Linked DNA regions of Homo sapiens: region 2 is linked to region 1. Evidence: promoter capture Hi-C in human tissues and cell types (Jung and others, 2019). All regions are on one chromosome and are shown on one strand. The core of a region is centred on a gene start or on the middle of the fragment in contact, and the rest is flanking DNA. Distances in the headings are between cores, read along the strand shown. Region 1 holds the start of ASIC1 (acid sensing ion channel subunit 1). Region 2 overlaps RACGAP1 (Rac GTPase activating protein 1).

What was found. Contacts are between HindIII fragments. The study calls those that stand out against the background at their distance.
Region 2: a fragment that was not itself captured here is called in contact with the fragment with the promoter of ASIC1 in region 1 in 1 of the 25 tissues and cell types used here (neural progenitor cells).

The regions. Positions count from the first base shown.
Region 1 is chr12:50,056,323-50,059,022 of GRCh38, forward strand. ASIC1 (acid sensing ion channel subunit 1) reads left to right here and starts at 1,274. Exons shown (of 12, transcript NM_001095.4): 1 at 1,274-1,594; 2 at 2,429-2,700. The coding sequence starts at 2,445. RefSeq lists silencers at 1,077-1,236, 1,307-1,476. The HindIII fragment of the contact is 14,217 bases long and covers 1-2,700 here.
Region 2 is chr12:49,996,873-49,999,572 of GRCh38, forward strand. RACGAP1 (Rac GTPase activating protein 1) reads right to left here. Exons shown (of 17, transcript NM_001319999.2): 9 at 2,269-2,399; 10 at 168-332. Among named protein-coding and RNA genes, the nearest start is that of AQP6, 25 kb to the left of the region's middle. The HindIII fragment of the contact is 4,436 bases long and covers 1-2,700 here.

The DNA.
Region 1 (2,700 bases), core at 24-2,523:
CACTCTCCCACTAGGGACCTCCAGACCCCTTCTCTGGTTTCCTAGATGTCCACTACTCCCAACTTCTCATCCAACTTCTTTCCAATGTGCCATCCCCTTCTCGTTACAGGTTTTCTTCTAACTTAAAGCCCGGCACCATGTCCTAGGAATACACCTCTCACCATCCTTCTCCCCGAGCCGCACCAGCCTGCAAGTAGAGCGAAGGAGCCACTAGAGACAGAACTCTGGTCCCCCGCACCCTCCTCCTCATCATCTGACACCATCAGACCTCAACAGCCTCTGTGCTAAGAGCCCCTAATGAGCATCAGCAAATTAACAACTTCCCCTTGATTGCTCCTTCTCTGTTAATTGGATAGGGAGGGCCCCCCTCCCCAAGGCCTCTCAGAGAAGAGGAGGGAGGCAGGGAAGGAGAAAGGTGAGAGCCACAGGAGCAGCCCCCAGGCCTGCGTTCTGTGCTGAGACTTCTGCTCCATCCCTGAGCATAGCTCCCCGTTCCAACCCTTCCTCACCCTGTCCCCTTCACTCCCTTTGCCTCCTTCCTTCTGTCCAAATTCCCTTGACCTCTGGCTATTTTTCCTTCCTTTTCTCTGCTCCTTCTTTGGAGATTTGGCAGTAAGGGGTTGCGACCATGCCCCCCACAAGCCCAAAGCTACAAGGATGGGATCTGAGTGGTCAAGGCTGCGTGTTGGCTCACATATGTGCACGTGTATATGTGTCACATGCAGGTGGGAGCAGGGATAAGAGCAGGTGAGTGCTTGCCATGTGGGTCAGGCCCCCGGGATACGTGGACATCTGTTGCGGGGGGGTGTGGTTGTGAATGGTGTGGTGTGACTCTGGTCGGTATGTGTGTCTGTCTCCATATGGGCTAAGTGCTTGAATTAGTCAAGTGTGACTCGGAGCGTGTGTGTGTATGTGTGTGTGTACGCGCGTGTGTGCCACCAGAGGAAGCAGCAGCAAGAGGCAGGAGCATCGATCCGAAGGAGACAGCGCGGGGAGAGGGACGCTAGGGGCAGACACCCTCCCTCCTGCGCGCACACACGCGCGCGCGCACACACACCACACACAGAGTCATACACACAAGCCATAGGGCCTCGCAGGCAGGGAGACGGCTCCGGGACTGGAGAGAGGCAGCGCCGCCGAAAGCGGCCGCGAGGAGGGGCGAGGCGGCGCGGGGAGCCCTGGGTCCCGCTCCCGGATCCGGGGCCCCGCGCGCACACCAGCCCAGAGACAGCCTCGCAGACACTCGTAGGCGCGCACGCGCACCCTCTCCCCTCCCCCTCCCCTCCCGCCGCCTCCCGGCCGGACGATGGATCCCTGCAGATCCCAGGGCTGAGAGCACCGCGCACCGCGCCGAGCCCGGGCAGACCGAGCCGAGGCGAGCGAGCCAGCGAGCCAGCGCGCGCGGGCGGGCGGACAGATCGGAGCCGAGCGGGGCCGGGCGGGGCGCTCCCTGCAGGGCTCTGCGCGGCGTGCCGCGGCGGCCGCGGGCTCCGGCCCCGGGCCATGAGCCCCTCCGCGACTCGGCGCTGAGCCCGCCACCGGTCCAGCGCCCCAGGACCCGCCGCCGGCTGCCGGCTTGCCGAAGCCCCCTCAGGTGGGTTTCCGATACCCCTGCCTTTGGCCGCGAGGCTCCTCGGTACCCCGAAGCCGGGACTCTCCTCCCTCTGGATTTCCCTTGCTGCTGGGGCGGCTCGGTGGCTGGGGAGGGGGGCGGGGGCCGAGCTGGGGATCTGACTGCGACGAGAAGCTGGACTGGGGGGGGCTGCGTCCGGGGCGGGGACAGCTCGCTGTCATAGGGAACCGCGCCCCCCCTCCATACATCCACCTCGGGCAGCCCGCCACCCCCCACTCCCAACATACACACAGCCTGCGCTTATGTGAGAACTGGAGACACCCGCAGGTGAGGACTCAGGCTGGGCCCCTCCCTAGATGTAGCCACCTCCCTGGGGGTTTTCTGGCCCCAGTTTAGCCCTTAGGACCACAGCCCCGTCCAGGGAATACCCGTGACCAGGACAGGAGCTCCTTACCCCGGGGTCAGCCCATCTGGGTGAGTTTTCATCTCCAGGATGGGGTGGATATTCTTGTCCCAGAGTGACCCCACATCTGGAGGGAACTCCTGCGCCTGCCTATGGGTGCATCAGGACTTCCCCCTCAACCTCGGATGACTATATCTGGGGTCTCCCCGGGCCTGGGAAGCTTCTCTGGGGAGCATTCTCTTGGCCTGACCTGACCCCCTGTGCCTCTGTATTTGGAGGAACCCTGGATGTGTCCCTTGGTCAGCCACCTCTGGGCTTGCAAAGCAGGGAAGTCTTCTGCCCGAGGAGTGGTGACCTCTGGAGATGAGGATTCTGGATGGGCACATGTGGAGGGGCTCCATGTGTACTTTCATCCCAGGACAATGATAGACTGTCCCTCCCTCCTCCCCCAGGATCCCCTCAACAAGGATGGAACTGAAGGCCGAGGAGGAGGAGGTGGGTGGCGTCCAGCCGGTGAGCATCCAGGCCTTCGCCAGCAGCTCCACACTGCACGGCCTGGCCCACATCTTCTCCTACGAGCGGCTGTCTCTGAAGCGGGCACTGTGGGCCCTGTGCTTCCTGGGCTCCCTGGCTGTGCTGCTGTGTGTGTGCACGGAGCGTGTGCAGTACTACTTCCACTACCACCATGTCACCAAGCTCGACGAGGTGGCTGCCTCTCAGCTTA
Region 2 (2,700 bases), core at 119-2,618, 59 kb before region 1:
ACAAACCCAAACAGGACTCTTCTACAAGTAAGTATCTTACAATTCTAGTCATTATTTGTGGAAAGAAATATATTTGAGATGATTAATTTTAGAACAAAAACTGACACTAAGCCTTTGAAAGGCGAATAAAGAGGCCATAAAACAATGACGGCTTGCATAAGTCATACCTCTCCAATCTTGACAGGTGTTCCTATCAGGGTAGGAATGCAGGGAAGGGGACAGCGGTCCCGACATTCTGGATGAGAGACCACACGACAGTCTCGACACTTCAGAGATAATTTGCCAAATTTTATCCGCTTTCCACATGGAACACAGGATTCAGGTTTAATAACCTGGGATAAAACAGGGCAGAAGGAACAGAGTGATATGAATTAGAAAATTATCATCATAATCAACTAACTTTTTTTTTTTTTTTTTTTTGAGACCGAATCTCACTCTCTCGCCTGGGCTGGAGTGCAGTGGTGTGATTTCAGCTCACTGCAACCTCTGCCTCCCAGGTTCAAGCGATTCTCCTGTCTCAGCCTCCCGAGTAACTGGGATTACAGGTGCCCACCACTACGCCCAGCTAATTTTTCGTATTTTTAGTAGAGACAGGGTTTCACCATGTTGGCCAGGCTGGTCTCGAACTCCTGACCTTGTGATTCACCCACCTCGACCTCCCAAAGTGCTGGGATTACAGGCGTGAGCCACTGGGCCTGGCCTTTTTTTGTCTTTTTTTGAGACAGAGTTTCGCTCTTGTTGCCCAGGCTGGAGTGCAATGGCGTGGTAGAGGTTGGCTCACTGCAACCTCCACCTCCCGGGTTCAAGCGATTCTCCTGCCTCAGCCTCCCAAGTAGCTGGGATTACAGGCATGCGCCACCACGCCCGGCTAATTTTTATATTGTTAGTAGAGACGGGGTTTCTCCATGTTGGTCAGGCTGGTCTCGAACTCCCGACCTCAGGTGATCTGCCTGCGTCAGTCTCCCTAAGTGCTGGGATTACAGGCGTGAGCCACTGTGCCCAGCCATAATCAACTAACATTTATTGAGCACTTAGTATGTGCCAAAAAATTTTCTAAGCCCTTTAGACATATTTACATATGTAATTCTCACAGTAATCCCATAAAATAGGTTTTGTTTTCTTCATTTTAAGATGAGGAAACAGAAGCAAAGAGAGTTTAAGTAACTTGTTTAAGGTCATCCCACTGGAAGGCAGCAGTGTGTGATAGTGGAAAGAACTTGTTTACAAAGAGCAGAAAACTTGGATGTTGGCAGGGCATGGTGGCTCACGCCTGTAATCCCAGCACTTTGGGAGGCTGAGGCGGGAGGATCACCTGAGGTCAGTAGTTTGAGACCAGCCTGGCCAACATGGTGAAACCCCATCTCTACTAAAAGTACAAAAAATTGGCCGGGCATGGTGGTGGGCACCTGTAATCCCAGCTACTCGGGAGGCTGAGGCAGGAGGATTGCTTGAACCCGGGAGGCAGAGGTTGCAGTGAGCCGAAATCGCACCACTGCACTCCAGCCTGGGCAACAGAGTGAGACTCTGTCTCAAGAAAAAAAAAGAAAAAAAGAAAACCTGGATGTGAAATCTGTCACTTACTATCATGTGGCTCAAAAATGTCAGTTAACTCCTCTGAGCCTCAGTTAATTTGCTTGGATTTTTATAAGGAAATAAAATGGTACAAAAGCAAAACATTTTGAAAATCTTAGGTGATATATTCAAGAAAAAATGTAAACATGTGTCACTAAAAAGTACTAACAATGGGCCAGGCACAGTAGCTCATGCCTGTAATCCCAGGACTTTGGGAGCTGAGGCAGGGGGAGCACTTGAGCCCAGGAGTTCAGGACCAGCCTGAGCAACATAGCAAGACCAAGTCTCTACAAAAAATTTAAAAATTAGCCGGGCGTGGTGGCACACATCTGTATCCCTACTACTCAGGAGGCTGAGGCAGGAGGATTGCTTGAGACTGGGAGGTTAAGGCTACAGTGAGCTATGATTACACCCCTGCACTCCAGCCTGGGTGACAGAGTAAGACTCTGTCTCAAATTAAAAAAAAAAAAGTACTAACAATTGCTTCAGAAAAGTTGGTCTCTTTAATTTAGTATTACTCACAGAATGGAAAGAAACTTACCTCTGTAACCAATAGTTACTTCTGGAGAGTAAAATTGGAATGAGGAAGGAAATTTGACATTTAACTTTATAACACTAAAGTATTTAACTTTATTCCTGGTATTTATTACTTTCACAATTAAAAAATTAAAACACAAACAACAATCACAGATTTACCGTCTTAGAAACAAAGTCATGCAGGCGCATCCCTCCATTACTCTGTGGCGTGCCCACACTGTCTGTCTCAGTTCTTGGCTCCAGCTGCCTGCTGTTCAGGGTGGAGTCACTGTTCCAAGGTTGTAAAGTACCTAGAAAACAAGCAACTTTTAAGCTTTGTGTCTTAAGTATTTTGCTCCTTCTAAATTTTAGCTCCAATTTTAACTGGGAGATAAACAGTAATCTGTTATCATAGCCAAAAGTGAGAACTAATGGCTATGTAAAAAAACAGTTTCAAGAAAAACTAAAGTTATGCCAGTGGGCTAGCAATTCAAAGGTAAAGCATGACACAAGCAGTTCTCTGGTCCTCGGTATGCAGCAGTAAGAAACTACCCAATACATCCAATCCCCGCCTCCAGAGGGTTCTAAGAAACCAACTCTCCAAAATTTTGC